6 separate regions of the Homo sapiens genome follow, and all the other regions are linked to region 1. The links are contacts of gene promoters, found by promoter capture Hi-C in human tissues and cell types (Jung and others, 2019). All regions are on one chromosome and are shown on one strand. The core of a region is centred on a gene start or on the middle of the fragment in contact, and the rest is flanking DNA. Distances in the headings are between cores, read along the strand shown.

Evidence for each region. The method cuts DNA at HindIII sites, captures the fragments that hold promoters and counts their contacts. A contact is called where the count stands out against the background at its distance.
Region 2: the fragment with the promoter of KCTD5 here is called in contact with the fragment with the promoter of ABCA3 in region 1 in 2 of the 25 tissues and cell types used here (dorsolateral prefrontal cortex and thymus).
Region 3: a contact is called between a fragment that was not itself captured here and the fragment with the promoter of ABCA3 in region 1, in 1 of the 25 tissues and cell types used here (IMR-90 fibroblasts).
Region 4: the fragment with the promoter of SRRM2 here is called in contact with the fragment with the promoter of ABCA3 in region 1 in 3 of the 25 tissues and cell types used here (adrenal gland, aorta and dorsolateral prefrontal cortex).
Region 5: a contact is called between the fragment with the promoter of NDUFB10 here and the fragment with the promoter of ABCA3 in region 1, in 2 of the 25 tissues and cell types used here (lymphoblastoid cells and mesenchymal stem cells).
Region 6: a contact is called between the fragment with the promoter of PRSS27 here and the fragment with the promoter of ABCA3 in region 1, in 3 of the 25 tissues and cell types used here (H1 embryonic stem cells, dorsolateral prefrontal cortex and lymphoblastoid cells).

Annotation. Positions count from the first base shown.
Region 1 is chr16:2,339,284-2,343,609 of GRCh38, forward strand. ABCA3 (ATP binding cassette subfamily A member 3) reads right to left here and starts at 1,445. Exons shown (of 33, transcript NM_001089.3): 1 at 1,290-1,445. It also overlaps the pseudogene ABCA17P. RefSeq lists silencers at 1,066-1,125, 1,296-1,755. The HindIII fragment of the contact is 11,234 bases long and covers 1-4,326 here.
Region 2 is chr16:2,680,732-2,684,698 of GRCh38, forward strand. KCTD5 (potassium channel tetramerization domain containing 5) reads left to right here and starts at 1,792. Exons shown (of 6, transcript NM_018992.4): 1 at 1,792-2,069. The coding sequence starts at 1,818. RefSeq lists a silencer at 1,875-2,054 and enhancers at 2,150-2,760, 2,305-2,354, 2,425-2,474. The HindIII fragment of the contact is 14,940 bases long and covers 1-3,967 here.
Region 3 is chr16:2,649,422-2,653,788 of GRCh38, forward strand. No RefSeq gene overlaps it. Among named protein-coding and RNA genes, the nearest start is that of FLJ42627, 13 kb to the left of the region's middle. RefSeq lists an enhancer at 4,236-4,367. The HindIII fragment of the contact is 4,729 bases long and covers 1-3,615 here.
Region 4 is chr16:2,751,271-2,755,217 of GRCh38, forward strand. It overlaps SRRM2 (serine/arginine repetitive matrix 2), which reads left to right and starts at 1,368. Exons shown (of 15, transcript NM_016333.4): 1 at 1,368-1,576. SRRM2-AS1 (SRRM2 antisense RNA 1) reads right to left here and starts at 1,330. Exons shown (of 6, transcript NR_027275.1): 1 at 1,172-1,330. RefSeq lists enhancers at 248-1,090, 690-859, 920-1,209, 1,091-1,933, 1,934-2,776 and silencers at 1,390-1,699, 1,720-1,779. The HindIII fragment of the contact is 13,386 bases long and covers 1-3,947 here.
Region 5 is chr16:1,958,240-1,960,787 of GRCh38, forward strand. NDUFB10 (NADH:ubiquinone oxidoreductase subunit B10) reads left to right here and starts at 1,299. Exons shown (of 4, transcript NM_004548.3): 1 at 1,299-1,515. The coding sequence starts at 1,386. RefSeq lists an enhancer at 1-356 and silencers at 1,079-1,388, 1,819-1,928. The HindIII fragment of the contact is 2,906 bases long and covers 266-2,548 here.
Region 6 is chr16:2,718,157-2,722,278 of GRCh38, forward strand. It overlaps PRSS27 (serine protease 27), which reads right to left and starts at 2,068. Exons shown (of 6, transcript NM_031948.5): 1 at 1,959-2,068. The coding sequence starts at 2,004. RefSeq lists an enhancer at 2,338-2,905 and silencers at 2,639-3,398, 3,529-3,598. The HindIII fragment of the contact is 19,281 bases long and covers 1-4,122 here.

The DNA.
Region 1 (4,326 bases), core at 195-2,694:
CTCGTGCTACCCTCTCCTGTTCCAAAAGCCTGTCTGGTCAGAATGGTGGTAAGTCACTTTAGGAAGGGAGAGACGTCGTCCTGTTTTTCAGGTAGAGTTAGCAAAGGTTCAATTTAAAAGAAAAATTATCTAAGAAGTTAAAAATGAAAGTGTGGGGGAGATTCCCATGACATCCATTTTTATCTATTTTTCCCTTTCTCTTACATTTCTCATGAGGCAAACTTTCTAAAACAGTCTTAGTCTTTTCAAGTTTACAAAAGGCAGCGCCCAGACTATCTGAATAAAATGACGGGATGCCCAGGAGAAGAGTGAACCTCTCCCACGTGCTCCCTGCCTGGGCTCCATGCTGTCGCGGGGTCTCGGCTACTCACTCAGCGGGCATTTCTGGAGTTCCAGGAACACAAACCCCAACAAGATCCAATCGACGCCTTCCCGGAGTGCACAGTCCAGGACGTAACCCGGAGAACAAGCGGCAATTACCCCCTGAGGACATGGCTTCATCTGTGCGACAGACACCAAGCGCCTTCCCCACGCCCCTGACCATAAGGCCGTCCCGGCCCTTCTGAAGCGTGGAGCCGGCTTGGAACAGAGCCAAGACACACGGACGCGATGCACACAGGCGTCCTGACCGAGGGCGCCGAGAACGCGGCCTCCGGCGACTGCCACAAGCCCCTCCGCCTGGACTAGCGGCTCCCCTTTCCCGTTCCCACACAGTGGAGGGCGCAGCAAACGCCCGCCGCGGACCGTGGGCCTTGGATTCGGATTTGGAGGCTCCTCGGAACCAGAGGGTGGGAGCAGGCGGAATCCAACCCGGGCGGCTTTGCCACCGCGCGCCCGGCATCCCTGCGGCCGGAAAGCGGCGCCATCTCCGCAAGTGCGCGGCGGACGCCTGCATCCCTCGGGGCCGGGGCTGTCGGTCGCTACATATCCACCTTCTGGGCGCACACAGAGGGCCCGGGCCGTGCCGAGTCTCCGCAGGGTCGAGCTTCCCCGCGCGGCGCGGGCTCAGGCACTGCCCGCAGTGCGGGACACGCCCAAGGCTCGGATGGGAGCCGACGCTGAGGGAGCGGCACCTGCAGGGAGCGCCCGGAGCCGAGGCCGCGGCAGGAGGGGCGGGCGCGGGCGCGGCCGGAGGGGATGCGGGGTCGCGGGAGGGGCCCGCAGGCCAGGCCGGAGCTGGGGGGGGCCCGAGGCCCGAGCTGGCCGGCGAGGGTGGGAAGGGCGGACCCGGGTGGGGACCGCAAGCCCCGGGAACGAGCGCGCGAGCGGCGGGTCCCGGCGGCACTCACCGAGCCTGGGCGCCGGGGCGGCGGCGGCCGGCGCGCGGCCCTCTCGCGGGGTCCCCTCCCTCGGCCACCCGGGCTCCGCTCCAGCCTCGCAGTGGCGGCGGCACTGACAGCTGCGTGGCCGCCCTGGAGGGGAGGGTGCGCCTGCAACCCGCTACTGGCGGACGCAGCGGCCGCTCCGGCTCCTGCAGGGGGCGCCGCGGATGGCGCGTGCGCAGTCGGCCGCCCCTGCAGGTGCCCGGTCCACCCCCGGCCGCCTCGGCCGCTCCGGCCAGCCCAACCCCGCGCCTGCGCGGTGCCCCCTGCATGTCGCCCATGCCCGGCAGAGGGCGCTCTGACTTGCGCGTGCGCAGTCAGCCACCCTGCGAGTACGCGGTTCGCACCCGGCCGCGCGGCAGCCCGTGCTTGCGCACTGCTCTGTGCCCGCGCCTATGTCCAGCAGGGGGCGCGCAGCGGCGGTAGCCGAGCGAGGGCGCGGTGGCCTCTGACAGGAATGACTCTGCGCACGTGCGTTTCGCAGCAGTGGAAGTCTTCACACCCGGAAACTCGACTTTGGCCGTTTCTCCATTTCTCCTCACGCACTGTCTTTCCTTGGGCCCTCGTCACTCCTGGCACCGGGGGAAGGGCTTCCCCGCCTCTGGCCGGGCGCTGGGGCGCGACCGAAGGCGAGGCGGCGGCGAGGAACCTTCTGGAATTCGGCCGTCGGGGCAGGCGTCGAGTTTACAGGAGAAGGCGCGGTGTCCCGGGATGAGCGGAGTCGCCCTCACTTAAGGAGCGAGGGAGGCCTCGGGGGTCCCCAGCCGGGTAGGAGTCACCTCAGGCAGGAGGGCCCGGCCTTGTCGGGGTCACCTGGCGGGAGGGTCCCGGGGTGGGGCGGGGCCGCCTGTGAGGAGGGTCCAGAGAGGGTCGGGGTCACCTGAGGGGAGGGTGGGGGGGTTCGGGGATGGTTGGGGTCACCCGACGGGATGGTCCGGGGAGGGTCGGGTTCACCTGAGGGGAGGGTCGGGGAGGGTCCGGAGAGGGTCGGGGTCACCTGAGGAGGTGGTCCGGAGAGGGTCGGGGTCACCTCACGGAGCGAGCGGAACGGGGTCACCTGGAGGGAGTGTCCAGGGCGGGGGCCCTGCAGGGAGTCGCCTGCAGGGAGGGTCCCGGGCGTGTCACATTAGGCGGTCCCAGGGACGGGTCGCGGTCTAACGGGACGGGAGTGGGGAGGTGGGTCGGGGTGTCCCTGGGCCGGACCGGGTCGTGGGACTGGGTCGCCCCAGGCAGGAGAGCCTGGGAGGGGCGGGCCCCCTTGGCGTGGCAGGGAGAGGTGGAGTGAGGGACTCCCGGGCTCCAGCATGAGGGCGGGCGCCGCGCGGGGCCGACAGTTGCCGCGGGCCGGGGCCAATGGGTCCCCGAGCGCCGCCAGCGGCCGGACCACAGTGAGGTGCGTCCGTGGTCCCGGCGCCCCGGGTGAGGGAGGGCTGCTGCCGGTCCTGCCGCTGGGAGCCGCCTGCGACCCGCACCGCCAGCCCCGCGCCCAGCCAGCCGCCGGCACCACGACCCGACGGCCCCGACCTAATGCAACGCCCCGGGCCGGGGGCGGAAATCGCCCACCCCCAAGAGTCCTGATGGAGTAGGGTTTGAGCGGCTCGTTCCCCATTTTACTGTGTACATAGCACCTTTCACTCTGATGATGTTCTGGATAGCCCATTCCGCGAGCAAAGGGACTTCGTCAGGTTCATGCCTAGATCCAGGGTCCTAGAGTGCCTGGGGCGGAGGAGGCTCATGCTAAATAATTTGTTCAGTGGAATCACAGAGACCTGGCTTCAGATCTTGACCCACCAATTAATGTAGACATGTCATTTTATCTTTCTGAGTCTCAATTTCCTATCCCTAAAATTGAAATTATAATAATAGTAATTAATAATAATAGCAAACTCAAAGGTTTTTTGTTGGTGTATTCTTTTCTTTTTTGGGTCAAATGAGAAAATGCATGTTTAAGTGCTTACTACAATACCTGACACATAAATGCCAAATAAATGGTAGTATATAATGTGAGTATAGCTAGGGATTTACATAGCCTAGTCTCCGTAATGAGCATACAGGGGGAAAAAAAACCCCAAACAATTGAATGCAGTTACAGGATGGGTGGGGGAGTGGATTATTAATGCGCTGCAAACATCCTAAAAACCCCCTTTCCCCATCAGTCTTCACAGACTGCAACACCCCATCCAAAATGTCTTCCCCATTCTCTGCTTCGTCCCAGAAAATGATGTGAACTTGGCTGCTTGGCCCTGTCTTCACCCGGTCATATCCTCAGTCATTTTTCTTTCCAAAACCAATCCTTGCCATTTCCAAATTGAATTTGTTAGACCTTGCACGTTTTTCCGGCCTTTTCAAAACTGGATCCCAATTCTCTGTAACCAAATCCAGTACCAGAACTGGCTGACTCAGAATTTACCTTAGATGGAAGATAGGGTAGGAATTTTGGAAGAAGGATGACCTTACAGATCAAGACAGACAATTGCAGGGTACTAATTTTATATCTTTTTTCTTAACTCTGCCAGGTTAATTGTTAATTATTATAATCACAATCATGAGGTGGGAGGGTGTGAAGGCCACTGGGAAAAGTATCTTATGCCCAAAAATTTCAGGCTCTGAACTGTTAAAAAACAGTTGCCCACAGTGAGCTGGACCCTTTTGATGCCCTTCAACAATCCCTGGATAATTCATCACATTGTGCTCAAGGCCCACTACTGAAAAAATAAAGCAAACCTAGATGCTCCACCTAGTCATTTCTTTCCAGATGGAGGCCCAGATAAGGTCATAATTTCTTCAGAGTCACCCAGTAGAGCTGAGATGACAACCTCCGTGTTCAGGCTCCTGGACTCTACCCCTCTCTTATATGGAAACACTCACATCCATATACCATGAATACATGCTGAGAAATTGAAGGATACACTCCTTGAAGTTACTATGGTTCAAACATTTCTTTTCTCTCAAGATTGATGGTAAACATTATAGTGGATGGTGACACTCATAAACAAATCTTACA
Region 2 (3,967 bases), core at 542-3,041, 340 kb after region 1:
TGAGGCTGCCTGTGGAGAACTGGTGTGAGGAGGAAGCTGTTTCCAACAAAGAGCACTTTCATCTGTTGAGATGGCTGTGGTGAGCAACTGAACGAGCCTACGTGTGTACCTGAATTTTCCCCATAACTCATTTCTTCCATATGAAGAAACACCAAACTATGTACAGAGAACTTTTTACAAAAGGCAGACCTTTTTTAAGCTGTGTAACCCACATAGCCTAACCGTCTGGCAGAATGACTACGAATAGGGGTCATTGTGCTGGTAAAAGCCTCTATTACGACTGTTAAGTTGGATGTTGGCAAAATTAAATTGTTACAGTATTTAGAGCTGCTGTAGCTGTTCCTTCACAACATGAAATAGGATAAATGACTAGTACGTCTTTCAGGTGGGTGGCAGTCAGAACATGCGTAATATTCTCTACCTGGTCTGTAGCTGTAACTGTGATGTACAGACAAAGCAAAAATTAAAAGAACTCATGAAAACAAATAATACAATGGTATTAGGATATACACTTTTGTGTTTTTAATCTTATAGAAGGTTATTTGCTGGCTATTGTTGGCCTCTAGTTCAGCCTGTTATTTAAATTCTTTTTTTTTCTTGAGACGGAGTCTCACTCTGTCGCCCAGGCTAGAGTGCAGTGGCCTGATCTCGGCTAACTGCAACCTCCGCCTCCTGGGTTTAAGCAATTCTCTGCCTCAGCCTCCGAGTAGCTGGGATTACGAGCGCCCACAACCACATCTGGCTAATTTTTTGTATTTTTGGTAGAGACGGAGATTCACCATCTTGGCCAGGCTGATGTTGAACTCCTGACCTCGTGATCCACCCACCTTGGCCTCCCAAAGTGTTGGGATTACAGACATGAGCCACCGCGCCCGGCCTAAATTCTAATATATGAATTATTTGTATTGAATTCATGTTCGGGGCCACGTTGTTATATGTATTGATATACAGCCTTGAATGTGAATAATTACTATATATTTTACAACTTTTTTCTGGCTTTATTACAAAAACTTTCTTTTTTTTTTTTTGAGACAGACTCTCGCCCTATCACCAGGCTGGAGTGCAGTGGCGAGATCTCAGCTCACTGCAACCTCTGCCTCCCGGGTTCACGCCATTCTCCTGCCGCAGCCTCCCGAGTAGCTTGGATTACCGGCGCCCACCACCGCGCCAGGCTAATTTTTGTATTTTCAGTGGAGACCGGGCCTCACCATGTTGGCCAGCGTGGTCTCGATCTCCTGACCGCCTGATCCTCCCGCCTCGGCCTCCCAAAGTGCTGGGATTACAGGCGTGAGCCACCAGGCCCCGCCCTTATTATATAAATTTTCTATTGGGTCAATGATTTAATCATATAATTTAATGAATCTGTTCTTTTTTTCCCCCCAAATATTTGTGCTTTAGGTGTAGTTACCAGATGATGAATTTTCCTCCTATGCTCCGTAGTCTTGTAATAAAAAGCATGTACAGTGTAGACGTTTGCTGGCATGGCTCTTCCTTTGACCAGTTCATGAACTGGAGTCAGGGTGGGGGTGAAGGCTAGGGTCGAGGTCTGGGTCAGGCGCTCGTGCACCGCTCGTGGGAGGTCGAGGCTGATGTCCGCTGCTCCCCATCAGCGTTAGTGCCCAGATCACCCCGTGCTCCGCTCCCGCCGGAAGCGGGCCCAGCCTCCTGCTTTTCGGGACCGGAACTTCCGCCTACCGCGTGACGCCGGGGCGGGCGCTCTACCAGGGCGGACCTGTGGGCGGGACAGAACTCAGAGGACGCTATTAAAAGCCGGACGCTTCCGGTGGAAGGGAGCTGTTGCGGGGCTTGCTGGGATCATGGCGGAGAATCACTGCGAGCTCCTGTCGCCGGCCCGGGGCGGCATCGGGGCGGGGCTGGGGGGCGGCCTGTGCCGCCGCTGCAGCGCTGGGCTCGGCGCCCTGGCCCAGCGCCCTGGCAGCGTGTCCAAGTGGGTCCGACTCAACGTCGGCGGCACCTACTTCCTCACCACTCGGCAGACCCTGTGCCGGGACCCGAAATCCTTCCTGTACCGCTTATGCCAGGCCGATCCCGACCTGGACTCAGACAAGGTGAGGGCCTCACGGGCCAGCCCGGAGGGTCCTGGCCTTCCCGGCCTGCGGCTCCTGCACACGCCCTGCTTCGTGCGGAGGAGACTTCAGCGGGAGCGGGCGACTCTCCTCGGGCTTCGAGCCCCGCGCTCCCTTGTCGCCAGCTCCTCCCCAGCTTGCCCCGATCCCCTACCCTGGGAGGGGAGGGTGAGGATGGCGCCCTGGCGTCCACTGCCTTTGAGGATCCTGAGTCGATTCACCTTGGGGGTGTCTCTTCCTCGCCCTCTTTGCTCTTTGGTGGAGGAGGCTTCCTAGACCCCGGACTTTGCTGTGATTCTACTTTCTTTTTCTCACTAGGTTCTTTTGCCCAGGGTGTGTGAACGCCTTCTCTTCTCTGTCCCAGGGTACTTGCTGGCTCTGGAAACAGAACCCTTGGCGTTGTTTCACATTCTGGACGTTTGAATTAACGCTGACGTGGGGGTTGATATGGGCGGCCCTTTTTTTCCCTGGTGACTTGCATTTAGAGAGTTGGCGCTCCATCCTTTCCATCCACAGCACGCAGCACCCACTCAGCACCTCTTAGAAGATGCGTCCGTAGTATATAGTATGATTTTTCGAAGGGGATTTTGCTCATATTAAGGGTTGCTTTAGGGATGTCCAGGAAGGGTCAGGTAAGGAATCTTTCAATCTGCTTTCTAATTGGCTTAGTTTTCCCACTGTCTTCGCAAAAGGACAGGAATTTCCAGGTTAGTTTGCAGCTTGTCTTTCATCAAGCGAAATGCTCATGCTGTTGGGTAGATGGTAATAGAAACCTTTTGCTACCTTTATTTATCAAGAGTTGTGGAGCCGAGGAACCGTGTCTTGGGAGTTGTGCAGGATTGAAACTCACAAAAAAGCCTGTTTGAAGAAGTTGTTACCTATATTTATTCAAGGCAGTTCACAAGCCTTATACTAACTTTGCGGGGTCTTTCAGTTGAGCTTACATGACTGCGCTTGGCTTTGTGCCTTGGCAGCCAACATTTGCCATGCAGGAGGCTTCCCAGAAAGGTTCGGATCCCTCTTCAAGTTTGAGAAGCCTGACTGAGACCATTCTCAGCATGGCATGACCGTGATCAGGAAGTGAGAATCTGGAGTTACTGCTAAGGCAGCCTTGTGGGTGGAAATGAGGGTTTGAGATGCCAACCCTCCTGTGCCTCCCCACAACTTCCAACTGTTTCCATTGCTCATTTGACCAAGCCCTCTACTCAGAGAATTGACCTCCCAGGAAATGACAGTCATCCCCAGGATAGAAATAGGCGTTTGTTAGCTGTGATTTTCCTTTTATAAGTGTGGGTGTATGTTTTACTGTTTGGTTTTTCTTTTTAAATAACAGGGCTTAGTGGTCACTCCCTTGCCTTTCTACTCAAGCATTCCTGTTTTGTATATGAAATTAGAGTTTAAATTGCTCTTGTCCATTGGGTTCTTTGAGGCAATGGTTGTCTATTCAGCACTGGAGCACTTGATTCCCAGTTGATGAACTTTAGCACAGTTAAGGTGGTTGATCCCTTTGCTTTACTGTTCCTTAAGACTTTGTTAAAAATTATGGGCCAGGCGCGGTGGCTCATGCCTGTAATCCCAACACTTTGGGAGGCCCAGGCAGGTGGATCTCGTTCAAAACCAACCGGGCCAATATGGTGATGCCCGGTCTCTACTAAAAATACAAAAAGGTGGGCGCGGTGGCTCACGTCTGTAATCCCAGCACTTTGGGAGGCCGAGGCAGGCGGATCACGAGGTCAGGAGATCGAGACCATCCTGGCTAACATGATGAAACTCTGTCTCTACTAAAAATACAAAAAATGAGCCAGGCGCGGTGGCGAGCACCTGTAGTCCCAGCTACTAGGCAGTCTGAGGCAGGAGAATGGCGTGAGCCTGGGAGGAGG
Region 3 (4,367 bases), core at 1-2,500, 310 kb after region 1:
AGTCATTAGCTACTAACCTGTCTCAGCCTTTTGCACTTGAACTAGTCCTGGGCCTCAAATAGACATAGCTGTTCCAAGTGCCACGTCAGAACGCCCGCTCTGCCACTCACTCGCAGTCAATCCCTTGGCACATTACCTCAGCTTTCTGTGGCTCAGATTCCTCATCTGAAAGTCAGGGAGCCACAGGGCCGACCTCCCAGATTTGCCATGAGGATTTATTGAGTTCACCTACAAGATTCACCTGAGCAGGCCTTGAAGCCAGCTGGAAGCACTTTCACAATGAAGTAACACAGAAGACACAAAGTTTTCTCAACCAACGGTCACTGGATCATAGAATAAGCCTTTCAAAGCTAAATGAACCGTGTCCCCTTTTCCAAATGCCTTAAATATCTACTGGATTAGAAGGCCCAACTCTAACTTTGAGGACAAAACTATATAGAAAGGCTGAGCTCCCTCACACACGGGAGATAAATCAAGAAAGAAATCAGGCAGGGCACAATGGCTAACACCTGTAATCCCAGCACTTTAGCAAGACAAGGTGGGAGGATTGCTTGAGGCCAGCCTGGCCAACATGGTGCAACCTCGTCTCCAATAAAAATACAAAAAAGTTAGCTGGGTGTCGTGGTGGCCACTTGTAATCTCAGCTACTCGGGAGGCTGAGGCAGGAGAATCGCCTGAACTCAGGAGGCGGAGGTTGTAGTGGGCAGAGATTGGGCCACTGCACTCCAGCCTGGGCGACAAAAGTGAAACTCTGTCTCAAAAAAAAAAAAAAAAGGCCGGGTGCTGTGGCTCATGCCTGAAATCCCAGGACTTTGGGAGGCTGAGGCAGGTGGATCACAAGGTCAGGAGATCAAGACCATCCTGGCTAACACGGTGAAACCCCGTCTCTACTAAAAATACAAAAAATTAGCTGGACGTGGTGGCGGGTGCCTGTAGTCCCAGCTACTCGGGAGGCTGAGGTAGGAGAATGGTGTGAACCTGGGAGGTGGAGCTTGCAGTGAGTCGAGATTGCGCCACTGCACTCCAGCCTGGGCGACACAGCAAGACTCCGTCTCAAAAAAAAAAAAAAGATGGAAATCAGGGCGCCTCCTATGGTCAAGATGCTGTCACGCAGATGAACACTTCAACCAGCAAGAGAAAGGATCCCGAACAGAAAGCTAAGCTACCTTTAAATGGCAGTGTGTGCTCTGGAGCCTGGGAATGCAGTGCGACAGGTAGAGCCAGCGCCCGCACACTCTCACACGCGGCAAGCAGGAACTGCTCTCTCCAGGCCCCCGGACCAAAGTTGTGGGAGGCTGCCACAATCCACCTAGCTCATCTCCAAAGGGATCCTGCCCTCAGGTCAGCTGTGCTCACTGGCAAAGAGCATTCTGGTAAAAACCTCCTCTCACCTCAGAAAACTCCACAAAGCTAGGCCCAGCACAGAAAACCAGGTGGAGGAAGGGGGTGTTAGGGAGGGACAGCCGCCACCTTCCCCTACCCCTCAGGCTGCCACCACCAAGGACAACTGTGGTGGACTAGCAAAACCAATGCCCCAGTTGAGTTCCAGATTTACAGCTTACCTGTGGGTAAGCCACCGCTCTCCGACCCATCAAGACTCTTCTCTAAAATGAGGCTAATGACATGGGCCCACCCACAAGGGCTGCGGGACCCACACCAGACAGGAGTGTGAAGCACTCCGTGGAATCTGGTGGGCAGCTCACAGGGCAGGCCCTATGGCGGAGGGGATTCTCGGTGTGCTCGTACCAGCAACCCGTGCCCGAAGGCCCTGCCCACGCTGGTCCTTGGCCACGGGGAGCTGGCCCACAGCAGGCAAGTGGTCACCAACGCTCTCCCACGGTGCAACTCAGCAAAACGCAGCTCGCCCCCACCAGCGTGGAGCCCTGGCAACAGGTGAGGGCCGGAGGAAAGCTGTTTCTATTTCTCCACGAAGGGAGGGAGGAGCAGCTCCAAGGACAGCTACTCAATCTGTCCTCCCACAGCCATCTCCACTGGCCTCCCAAGGAGCCTCTCACTTACCCAGGGCAGACAGAGGGCAACGAGGCGCGGACTGCCAACTGCCTCAAGTCTGGTCCTCAGGCTCAACCGGGCTGCCAGCCTCAGGAAGCGCCAGGTCTCAATTTCACTAACCCACATCTTCAACATTAACGTTGTATATTTGTCACACAAACAGATGATGAAACACCAAAGTACAAGATTTCTCTGCAAGGAGGCTTTGTTCCCTTCCTGCACTTTGGAACTTCCTACAGGTGTACTTTAAACACCACTGATCAACATGAAAACCAGGATGCCAGTTACCTCTGAACGGGAGGGGCCAGAAACTACAATCTGGAGGGCCACTCGAGCCTTCTGGTAAAATCCTGTTTTTCAAGTAGGGTGGTGGGCACGTGTGAGTTTATTTTCATTCTTTAAACTCTCCATATATCTTCTGTGTGCCCCTTATAGGTATAACTTTAAATGCTGTTGTTTAAAATAAATAAAATGCCATTTTTCTCTACTAAAAAAAAAATTTATTAAGTGCTTGCTGTTTGCCACACATTCTTCTGAGCATTTTACATGTATTATCGTGGTTAGTCCTCAAAACAACTCTGGGGGTGGGTACCATCGGCATCCTTTCTACAGATGGGGACACTGAGTATACAGCAGGCTTTTGTCCAGTCAAACACTCCACAGTGAGGTCACACGCAATTCTGAAGCAGAATCCAACTACAAGGCCCACACTCCCAGCCCTCCCATGAGTAGGGGGTCGCCCATCTGAGGCTGATGTGTGTTCACCAGGGAACCAGGAGGGGCCGGAGGAAAACTGCAGCACCTAATCCTCAGTGCCTCGCCACAGCGCAGGCCACACCCTCTGACCTGCCCATTCCCCTACATGGCATCTAGGCGACACAGTCAGAAATTCAGACTAAGATTTATATTATTAAAATATTCATTAAGAAGTTACTCCTAGGCCAGTTGCGGTGGCTCACGCCTGTGATCCCAGCACTTTGGGAGGATCACCTGAGGTCAGGAATTGGAGACCAGCCTGACCAACATGGAGAAACCCTGTCTCTACTAAAAACGCAAAATAAGCCAGGTGTGGGGGCGCATGCCTGTAGTCTCAGCTACTTGGGAGGCTGAGGCAGGAGTACCACTTGAACCTGGGAGGCAGAGGTTGCAGTGAGCTGAGATCGCGCCACTGCACTCCAGCCTTGGAAACAGAGCGAGACTCCGTCTCAAAAAAAAAAAAAGAAAAGAAAAAGAAAAAGAAAAAAAAAGACAGGAGCAGCAGGCAGAAGGGGAGCAGACTCATCTCAAACCTGCCTCACATCCCCTGGAGGGATGCGGCCCCACCCGACTGGAAACCAGCCCTGTCAGTCTGCCTTGCTGGGGATGGCTCTGTCCCTGCAGAGTGTCCCAGGAGCATGCATGCCTGCAGAAAGCAGGTGCCTGGACTCCATGCCAGCTCTGACCCAAAAGTCAGAAGGCCTCCAGGTCCCAAGTGTCTTCATCTAGAAACTGGAAGGATCCAACTGGGTGAGCAAGAAGGTCCCTTCTGAAATTAAATTACCACCAGTGTCCTACAATCTATGACACAAAACCCCCAAGTAGCAGAGAGCAGAGCAGGCCTATGTGCTTCCTTTTGGTAAAGTAAAACTAATTTTGCCAGACACAGTGGCACGTACCTGTAGCCCCAGCTACTCAGGAGGCTGAGGTGGGGGGGTCGCTTGAGCCCAGGAGTTGGAGACTGCAGTGAGCTATGATCCCACCACTGCACTCCAGCCTGGATGACAGAGCGAGAGCTCATCTCTAAAGCAAACAATAATAATTTTTTAAAAGTTTTGTAAGTAATTTTGTTGAACGTCACCAGCGATGAGTCACGTGGATGTCCTGTACCCCAATACGACGCACTAAGGGCACCTCATCTCTGTGGGATTCTTCCTAACCCCACAACCTGTCCAACCACAAGACATCAAACAAACCCAAATGAAGGCACATTCTGCAAAATACCTGACCAGGACTCCTCAAAAGTACCAAGCTGATGACAAACAAGGAAGGACGGCAGCTATCCTACACCAGAGGGGGCGAATGAGACAGGACAACGCGATGCGATGTGGCACCGGGGCGGGGTCCTGGGACAGCAAGGACATCAGGAGGAAAACTGATAAAATCCAAAACAGGCCTGTCGCTCGGTGAGTAGTGTGGTGCCAGCGCGAACACCTCAGTTTCGACAGAGTGACAGAGGTATCACGGTCATGTCATGGCATTAGGGGAAGCTGGCTGGGGGAAATTATGGAAATTCTGTGTCGTCTGCAATTTTTCTACATACCTAAAAGTATTCCAAAATAGTTGATGTTTTCAATAATTTTTGTTAGGAGGCTACTTTG
Region 4 (3,947 bases), core at 118-2,617, 410 kb after region 1:
CGTCTTTACTAAAAATACAAAAATTAGCCAGGCGTGGTGGCACACGCCTGTAATCCCAGCTACTCGGAAGACTGAGACACGAGAATCACTTCAACCTGAGAGACAGGTTGCAGTGAGCCGACAACACACCATTGCACTCCAGCCTGGGTGACAAGTGCGAAACCACGTGAAAAAAGAAAGAACAACAACAACAACAAAAAACAAGGGCCAGATAGGGTGTCATGCACGGGTAGTCCCAGCTACTTGGGAGGCTGAGGTCGGAGGATCGCTTGAGCCCCAAATTCGAGAACAGCCTGGGCAAAACCCTGCCTCTTAAAAACACCCCCAAATCGTAATAACAAATATAAATCCTTGCACTCAAATGGACAGTTCATTACGTGGTACCGCGTCCTGTTGCGGATCAAGGCCACCTGAGTTGGTTAGGACAGCTAAGCGGGACGTCCAGGGCTGCTCGCCAGCGGTGGGTCTAGATATGAACTTGTGCTTGAGCAGCCCAGCGTCTTACAACTCTGCTGTGAGGACGGCTGGCTGATTATCAGGCCCAGAATCACGGGCTTAGAAACATTAACAGGAAGTACGGTACCGAAAAGTGGAAACTTTAAGGTGCTTATTATTTTCCTCCTGCCTTGTTCCTGTATGTGCCGCTTCACCGGTATCACGTCCTGGGTCTGGTGGGACCCCGGCCTGGCTGCCCTACCGGAAGCTAAGAAAACTCCTCCCCCAGGGGTGGCCGTCGGGCCTCAGCCCGGTCTACAGCGGGAGAACGTGGCCCATGCTACGGGTAACTGGTTGGGCCCCTGGTGCAGGTCTAGGGCCTGCAGCCAGGCTCGGGGCCTCCGGGGGTGCCCGCTGGCTGGGGTCTGAGGCGGCTTCTCTCGGGTACGGGAAGGCGGACTGCTGTGCAGCTGCGGGCTCGCTCGGGAAACCCAAAGTCACACGAAAGCGGCAGCACCACCGCGGCTGGGATATCGTCTCCCAACATGGGGAGACAAAATGGCCGCCACGCCCCGAGCCGAAATTACATCCGGGCTCCGCGACACGCCCGAACCACAACTCCCAGAATGCTCTGCATCGACAGCGGGAGACGAGACGCGCTCGGGCGTCGCTTTGCTGCCGCTAGGCCCTGTGCTCCTCCCCGCAGCGGAAGGCCTACGAATACGCGGTGTCTTACGTCGCTTCCTCCGTTCTTCGTTGCACTGGCCAACGGGACGCTTAGTCTTTCGGCAACGGGGTGAAACCTTCCTTGTGCCTGAAAAAACGGTACTTCGCGGTGTGGCTTCGGCGCCTGCGCAAAAGGCCGCGGGGCGCACTCCAGTTCCCGGCAGGCCCCGCGACGCGCGTTTGCGTGCTGACGCACGCAGTTAGTCGTGCTGACGTGCAGCGCGGCCCAGGCGGGGTGCGAGTGGCGCAGTTGGAGCCCGTTGCGGCCCCTGAGGAAGCGAGGAGGCGTCGGCGTCGGCTGAGGCGGGCGGACCGGCGAGGCGAGGCGGCGGCCCCAGGCCCGAGGGACTCGGGAGCTCGAGCAGCGGCGGCGGCAAGACCTCTCCCCCTCGGAGGCGGCGGGCGGAGGCGGCGGGTGAGAGGGTGAGGGAGCCAGCGAGCCGGGTGGGGGAGGGGCGGCGGCCCCGGCGCGAGGCCAAAGCGCGCGGAGAACTGCCCAGGCCGCCGAGCTCCTCCGCGCGCACGCGCGCTCGACGCCCTTCGCTGGCGCGGACGCCCTCGCCTCCCTTCCCCCTTCCCGCCGTTCCTGTCGCGCGCGGGCTTCACCCCCCCCCGCCCCTCCCCCATGACAACGGCGTTCGCAGCCGCCTGTACTCGGGTTCGCGAGCGCCCTTGGTGAGGGGGGAGGGCGCGCGCCTCGGCTTCACTCCTCCCCCCAACATGTGCCGCCGAGGTGGCCTTCCTGCAGCTGCCGTTTTCGGCCCTTAAGTGGCGGGGAAGGGGCGGCGGCGGGGGGCTTGCTCCTGGACCCTTGCCCCCGGTTCCAGATCTCCTTTCCTCGGGCTTCTCTTCGGCGTTGGGCTGCCCGTGTCGGGGGCCTCCCAGACTGCGGGACGCCGCGCAGCCCCCTCCCCCATTCCGCAAGGCCGAAAATAGGCCCCCGGCGCTGCGGGGAGGGCCTTGAACTTCGTGGGCCGGATTTAAATGGTTTAGGATTCCCGGCTATCAGCCTTTGAGTTGTTAGTGGCGGGGAGAAACCCCAAATCTTAAAAACTGTGAAGAAAGTGAACGTGTTCAGTTTACATTTGTAAGGTAGACCGTGCGTTCCCTTTTTACACTTTTTCAACGTCTCCCGAGAATTCGTGTTCAAACTAAGGAGGCTTTTGGAGACCTTCGTTGGGAAGAAAACGCCAGACTCATATATAAGTTTTCTGGTTGGTTTCAGGCGTTCTTTGGCACACAGCTCTTCTGAAGCTTGGTTTCCACTCGGCTTCAGTTAGGACGAATCTGGATCAGAATTTCAGAGTGTTGTGTTGTCTTTCATCCTAAGTGCGTGGGCTTAGGGCTCTTCTAAAGCTACTATTTTAGCTTTCTGGGTTCTTTGTGTCCACTCAGCCGCTCTGGAGCGCCCCGGTGCTGAGCTGGCTGTGCTTGCTGATGTCCATTTTTTTCGACAACCCTTGTCTCCCCTTTTTCTCCCCTTTTGGTACCGTTTTCTTTTTTGCATATTTTACTGTTGAATTCAAATATATCTTTCTACTTCATTGTTAGCTTACCACTCGGATAATTTCCCAACAGAAAAGGGTGTTTTTGTCTTCCTTTGTACTTTTTACTTTCTGCTTTTAACTTGGGTAACTTTTGCATATCCACTGTCTATGGCCCCCACTTTAAGAGTTTTGTAATATCGTTTGGTTTGGTGATTTGTGTGTGGTGTTGATCTTCCTACTTTCTGTGTCTTAACACACCCCTTAGATGCCGTGGGGTCGTCGTCTTTTTTTGTGGGGTGGACTAGGTGGCTCATTCCCTAAAAGTTCTCCGAAACATTGTGACCTAATATCCTTTGCTTAGCACCTACTGGTTTTTCTTTTTTTTTTTTTTCCGAGACGGAGTCTAGCTCTGTTGGCAGGCCGGAGTGCAGTGGCGCGATCTCGGCTCACTGCAACCTTCCGCCTCCCGGGTTCAAGCGATTCTCCTGCTTCAGCCTCTGGAGTTGCTGAGATTACAGGCAATCGCCGCCGCCCAGCTAATTTTTGTATTTTTGGTAGAGATGGAGTTTCACCGTGTTGGCCAGGCTGGTGTCAATCTCCTGATCTGGTGATCCGCCCACCTCGGCCTCCCAAAGTGCAGGTGTTACAGGCGTGAGCCACCGTACCCGGCCTGGTTTTCCTTTCTTAAGGAGTGGGGGGATTTTTGTGTGAGGTGGTATGGAAGTGTGGGTGAATGGTTAAGCTGAAGAATTAAGTGCAGGTCAAAAACATGCTGCAGGGGAAGCAGAAATTAAGTGGGGTAGGGGAGAGGCGAAGAAGGACCTAGTTTTAAACCGTGAGGAGGATTGGTACTAGAAGATGAAAATGAGGATTGGGGTGTAGAGAAATTGATTTTTTGAGCCATACAGTTTTTCATTTTTTCCTGGATTTCTGCTTGCCTTATCCAGGTTTAGCCTCTTCTGTCACCTTCTGCTTTCAATATTGGGTCTGCTACTGGGCTTGGGTAGGGACCCATCCTTAGGCGCATGCGCTAGTATATTTTTCCAAACATTTGTATGATGCTTCTTCATTCTGGAATTTTCTAAATGCATCCTTCCCTTCTATCCAGTTCTTTTACATCTTTGATTACTCTCTCCGCTTTACGTATTCCTTAGGGTTTTTTCTTAGTAGTATTTTCTCATATATGCATGTTCTAGGAAACTATCTTGGAGAGGATGAGGGTGAGAAAGAGAGTATATGTAATAGGAGAAAGGAATAGAGTATGTGTAGCCAAGGAATCTAACCAGGAAAGCTGGGACT
Region 5 (2,548 bases), core at 49-2,548, 380 kb before region 1:
CTGGAGCAGGGGGCGGCGCTCGTCGGGGAGGTTCGGGCCGCACAGGAGCCCACGGAGTGGGGGAGGCTCAGGCATGGCGGGCTGTAGGTCCCGAGCCCTGCCCCGCGGGGAGGCAGCTAAGGCCTGGCGAGAGAAATCGAGCGCAGCGCCGGTGGGCCGGCCTGCTGGGGGACCCAGCACACCCTCCGCAGCCGCTGGCCCGGGTGCTAAGCCCCTCATTGCCCAGGGCCGGCAGGGCCGGCCAGGCTCTCCGAGTGCGGGGCCCGCCGAGCCCACACCCACCTGGAATTCGCGCTGGCCCGCAAAGCACCGCGCGCAGCCCCGGTTCCCGCCTGCGCCTCTCCCTCCACACCTCCCCGCAAGCTGAGGGAGCCCGCTCTGGCCTTGGCCAGCCCAGAAAGGGGCTCCTCAAGTGCCGCCAAAGTGGGAGCCCAGGCAGAGGAGGCGCCGAGAGCGAGCGAGGGCTCTGAGGACTGCCAGCACGCTGTCACCTCTCACTGTTTGTCTGTAGGGTTGATGGTTCTGTGTCGCTGGCCTCAACCTCAGGACAGGACATGACCAGTGTCCCCCCTGGATAGCAGCCAGGGGCCGTGCCAGGTGTGGAGACTGAAGATGTGGCCAGCAGGACCCTGCTCAGTGGAGCTGCCTAGAAGCACCAGAGTGCCCCAGGGCCAGGATGGAACCATCAAAGCCGGCCAGAGGGCCCTGTGCCCAGGGTAGGTGCCTTCTCCCTATGAGCCGCCTAAGGGCAAGCCCTGCCTCCTGGTCTGCTCCCTGCCCTCCCCCAGACAGGCTCCCAAGTTAACTGGCACCAGCCAGTCCATGAGGGGCCCTTGTAGAGAGCGGGGCCCAGAGAAGTCTGTAGGGACTAGGCAATCCAGGAAAGCTTCCTGGAGGAGTAGGGTGTTTGGAATCGCGTGCTATTTGTTCACTTTGTCGTGTGCGCTCTAACGGCCTGTGTTCTCCATCACAGTTTATCTTATTCCCTGCTGCACTCAGCACAGTGCCTGGCGCGCAGTGGGAACCGAATGACCCCCTCCTATTCCTTATGTCAGTTGCCTTTTGTCTGTTTCTTTCATCGTAAGCAGGAATCTGTCCGGTTCGCGGCTGCTTCCCAGGCGCCCAGACCAGCGACCAGCACCGCGTAGGCGCTCGGCACAGACCGAGAACGGAGGCCCCACGCGGGGGCGCCCTGCGGCGAGGCGGGTCCCGGCCGCGCCCGGCGGAGCCGGGGAACTACAAGTCCCATGGTGCATCGCGGCGCCAGCGCGCAGACGCAGCCGCCCTCGGCGTCCTCTGTAGCGGGCGACCTAGGCCGCGGGACCCGGACGGAGGTAGAGGCCAGGGCAGCGCGTCCGGGAGCGGAGTCCGCGCCCGCCGCCGCCATGCCGGACAGCTGGGACAAGGATGTGTACCCTGAGCCCCCGCGCCGCACGCCGGTGCAGCCCAATCCCATCGTCTACATGATGAAAGCGTTCGACCTCATCGTGGACCGACCCGTGACCCTCGTGAGAGGTACGAAGCCCCAGCCCGGGGCTCCCTCGCCGGCCTCTGGGGACCCCTGGATCCCACACCCTGCCTGGATCCTCCAATGCCTCCGGGGTCCCGTCTGCCTGAGACCGCCCCCCGCTGCACCCCGGGGACAACTCCCCACCCCCGGAGACCTCCGAGCTCCGTCGCCTCCTTTGGCCTCCCACTGCACCCCGGACCTCACCTCCCAGGATCCCTTACTCTCCCCTGCACCCCGGGATGCCCCGCTTCTTCCCAGGACTCTTCCCTCCCTGCCGCACCCAGCGCCCACTGCCCCAGGACCCCGCACTGCTCTCCGCCCCCCGCCGCCCCGGGCACCCCTCCACTGCACCGCTGGCCTCAGGCCTCTCTCAAATGTCTCTCTGCCGGATGACCAAGTGTCGGGGTGATGGCCGAGATGCCCAAATTCAGCATCTCTGGAACGAACCGGGAAAATGCCCAGTTCAGTTTTTGTTGTTTTTTTTTTTCCTGAGACAGTCTCACTCTGTTGCCCAGGCTGGAGTGCAGTGGCGCGATCTCGGCTCACTGCAACCTCTGCCCCACCCCGGGTTCAAGCGATTCTCCTGCCTCAGCCTCCCCAGTACTAGGATTACAGGCGCACCACCACCACGCCCAGCTAATTTTTATATTTTTAGTAGACACGGGGTTTCACCATGTTGGCCAGGCTGGTCTCGAACTCCTGACCTCAGGTGATCCTCCCACCTTGGCCCCCAGGTGCTGGGATTACAGGCCTGAGCCACCGTGTCCAGCCTGGTTCAGTTCTTTTTGAACACTTGGGGTGCATAGCATGCTCTGGTGGTTCTTCCGTAAGAGGGTGAAGTCTCCAAATCAAACCCCCAAAGATCTGGAAACCGTGCAACAGCGGACCCAGCTCCCTCTCTTTTGTAGCAGTTGTAGAGCATGTCTGTCCTATGTGTCTGGATGTTCGAGCTCTCCTTTTAGCTCGTTCATTTCCCAGTGAGGAAGCTGAGGCCGTAAGGTGGTAAGTTCTGCTTGCTGGAGGCTCCCTGTTGGAGCC
Region 6 (4,122 bases), core at 818-3,317, 380 kb after region 1:
AGCACTGCCCCTTCAGCGATGCCTCCTCCCCATGCAGATCCTTCCTTCCTAAAGTAGCCCTGTACTTCTCATTTAGGCAGAGTCTTCTGGTCTCTGAGTGCTTGCTCCCCTCACCCCACAATCTGGATGCCCTTCCCCCAGTCTCCATAAGTCCTAGTCTTTTTTTTTTTTTTTTTTTTAAGATGGAGTCTCACTCTGTTGCCCAGCCTGGAGTGCAGTGGCGCGATCTCAGCTCACTGCAAGCTCCGCCTCCTGGGTTCACGCCATTCTCCTGCCTCAGCCTCCCGAGTAGCTGGGACTACAGGGGCCCGCCACCAAGCCCGGCTAATTTTTTTGTATTTTTAGTAGAGAGGGGTTTCACCATGTTTGCCAGGATAGTCTCGATCTCCTGGCCCCGTGATCCGCCCACCTCGGCCTCCCAAAGTGCTGGCATTACAGGCGTGAGCCACCGCTCCCAGCCAAGTCCTAATCGTGATCTAGAGATCAAGGCCCAACTGAATGCTGCCTCCTCCAGGAAGCCTTCCTTGCTTGCTTGCATTGTCTACCTTGGAAGCCCTATACTCTCTCTTGAGCTCTCTGTCCTGATGGGAGCTCTGTCTACATCACCCTGGAGCCAGAATCAAGTCTTATCTTAGCCCAGGAGCTCCGAGAAGGCAAGGGCTGCATCTGGGGGGCCTGATCTCAGGGAATGTGTGGATGGACACAAGTGTGGCTGTGGGGGCTGATGGGAAATGGGGGATGTGGACAGCTGAGCCCTTCAGGGTGGGCGCCCTGTGGGGGCTGGAAGCAACAGCCAGGGGTGCCGGGGGTGTCAGGAGCATTGTTTGGGGCCTGGGCCTGTGATTCGCTGGTAGCTGGTGGGGATGGTGAAGCTTAGTGGGTACCACCAGCCAGAGACCTGGTGGGAGTGCCACCCTCGGGCTGGGAGTGAGGACGTGTCCAGGAGTCCAGCCTCTGGTCACAGCTGTTAGTGAACCGACTGCAAAACTCATTGCCAAAGAGTTTTGGCAATGACCTTGGTTCCTCACCCCGCTCAGGGGCAGTCACAGCCTTCCACCTCCTGTGCACATGGCTTGCTCAGAGGGCACCATCCTTGTGCTGGGAGACTGGGGGCATGGGGTGGGGGAGGCCGGGCCACTGAGGGGCCACTGGTGCCCTCCCACCCAGGAGAACAAGGAAGCCTGGAGTACTGGCTAAGCTGCAGCCTGGGATGACCTGACCCAGCCCTGGGAGGTGACTTGAGGACAGGGAAGTGTGGTGGCTGCCAGACTGGCTAGGCTAGCCCAGGAATGTGAGAGGTTTTCCCTGACAGAGAGTGTCCCGGCCCGCAGGGAGGGGCCTGGCAGGTGGGGCCCCCTGGCTGGCACCTGCTGTCCCTGACCCAGGACTGGGAGAGGGCACGGTGGCGCATCACCGGTTCCTCTGTCAGCAGGAGACAGGGCCCTCTGCCACCTACACCCCCTGCCCCCAGCTCTCTACTGAGCCTGCAGCCAGCCTGCTGGGGCTTCCGGGCACAGGCAGCAGCCCTCGGCTCGGCCACCCTCCCACCCCGAGTATGATGGTCCAGGCACTTGGAGCCTGAGTTCACATCCTGCACGTAGGAGGCCCCTGTCCTCACCTAGAGAATGGGGGGAGAGGCCGAGGTGGCAGGAAGCAGGGAGCCTGGCCAGAGCTGGCACACCAGTGCCCGCGGAGAGGCATGGGAGGAGGTGCTGCCCAGTTATGCCGGTGGGGTCCTCTGGGGCCTGTGCGCACACCTCCCACCCTGCCTCCCCACTTTGGACTCCCCACTTGGCACATCTGGAGCCTTCCCACCTGCTCAGGGGCAGGAGGGATGATGGCCTGTCCCACAGCCCCAGCCTGTCCCAGGGAGTAGGGGGCTGAGCCGGAGCCCCAGGCAGTGCAGCGGAGCCTGGTGGGGGACTGCACCACCAGGACCCTGCACCTTCACGACTCACCAAAACACAGCAGCAGCAGGAGCGGCACCGCCGCCGGCCGCCTCATGTCCTCAGGCCTGGCTGGGGCGCAGGGCCGTGGTCGGCGGTGGCAGAAGCGTTGGAGCACGAGCGAGGTGCAGGCTCCATGAAGTGGAGTTTTATGCTGGAGATGAGCACAGGCCCGGCTATGCGGCCCAACCCGTCGGCCCGGCCTGCCCAGCTCCTCTCCTCAGGAAGGAAGCGCCCAGAGCCGACTCCTCCGTGACCTAGCCCTGAACCCCGAGACCCCAGGGCAGACCCCTCACCCCAGCGCAGCACGGGGTGCCGTTGGCCTCGGTTCCTGGACCCTGAGCTGACCCAGACCCCCCAGCAGACCCCGAGCTGACCGCGGTGCACGCGAAGTCCGTCCAGCTTCATTCATTATTATTATTATTATTTTTTTTAATTTTTTGAGACAGAGTCTCGCTCTGTCGCCCAGGCTGGAGCGCAATCTCGGCTCACTGCAAGCTCCGTCTCCCAGGTTCAAGCCATTCTCCTGCCTCAGCCTCCTGAGTAGCTGGGATTACAGGCAGGTGCCACCACGCCCGGCTAATTTTTTGTATTTTTAGTAGAGACGGGGTTTAACCGTGTTGGCCAGGCTAGTCTCGATCTCCTGACCTCGTGATCCGCCCTCCTCGGCCTCCCAAAGCGCTGGGATTACAGGGGTGAGCCACCGCGCCCGGCCTCATTCAGTATTTTATTGAGCGCCGATGGAACACAGTGGGGCTGGGCCGCGCTGGTGGGAAAGTCAAGGCCAGGGGTGTTTGCGGGGCCGAGGGCAGGGGAGGCGATGGGACATGGGGCGGGGTCCGGAGTTGGCCGCAGCGACCCTCCTCCCGGGACAGCAGGCCCCAGAAGTTCCTCAGGCGCGCGCCAGCGCGGCCCAGGCGGCCGACCCGGGCCCCGGCTGCCATCCCTTGGAAGGGGCGGGGGCTTCCTGGCACCAGGCGGGGCGGAAGCGGCTCCGGGAAGGCCGGGCCGGGGTTACCGTTTCGGTGTCCCCGCCTGGCTCTGGGCGCGGCGCCGCGGCGGAAGAGGCTCGGGGAGGAAGTTATTTGGGGCACGGCGCTGACGTCAGAGACAGAGTGGGGCCGGGCCGTGGGGTCGGGGGCGCCGGACCTGTTTCCCCGCCGGCGCCGGGGGTCGGTACTCGCGGGCGGGGCGGGGCCGGGCGGCTCCGGGCGGGGCTGGGGGTGCGGCCGTTCCCGCCTCAGCCTTGTCCGCGCGCGTCGTGGTGCTGCCCTCTGGTGGGCGCGGGGCGCGGCGCGGGCGGCCAGGGGTGCAGAAGGGGCGCTCCCAGCCTCATGGTCCGGGCTCCGGCTCCCCGCATCGCCCTCCCTAGCCCCGCCCTCCCGCGTCTCCGCCTCCGCCTCCACCGCCTCCTCCCACCCTTCCCTCCCCGTCCAGTCCCTGGAGTTCCCGGGTCGGGGGTGGGAGGCGGGCTGGGCAGCCCCTGGGGGTCTGGAGGGAAGGAGGGAGGGCGAGGAGTGGGAAGAGGGGACTCCAAACGTATTCATTCATGTATTGATTTATTCATTCAGTCAGTCAGTCATTTCTGAGCAGATTTGAGCCCAATACTGTCCCCGGTTTGGGGAATACAAAGGTGACCCAAACAGACCTCACCTCAGTGTGAGAGAGAGAACATCATTTAGCAGAGAAATCTCTAATTATAAACCGCGACGGGCTGGGTGCAGTGGCTCACACCGGGAATCCCAGCACTTTGGGAGGCCAAGGCAGGCAGATCACCTGAGGTCAGGAGTTCGAGACCAGCATGGCCAACATGGTGAAACCCCGTCTCTACTAAAATACAAAATTAGCCGGGCTTGGTGGCGGGCACCTGTGATCCTAGCTACTCAGGAGGCTGAGGCAGGAGAATCACTTGAACTCGGGAGGCGGAGATGGCAATGACACGAGATTGCAACACTGCACTCCAGCCTGGGAGACAGTGAGACCCTGTCTCAAAAAAAAAAAAAAAAAAAGGAGAATAATAATTATCAACCACGGAAAGTGTTTCAAAGTGTCTGGGTGACCACATTTCTCCAGCACCCTATGGTCAGGTCACTGATGGGATCTCAGAGGCAGTCTTAGAGCCTCGCAGGTAACTATTTCCTCTTGGCACCTTTCTGTGTGTTCCTTGGTGTCTGCT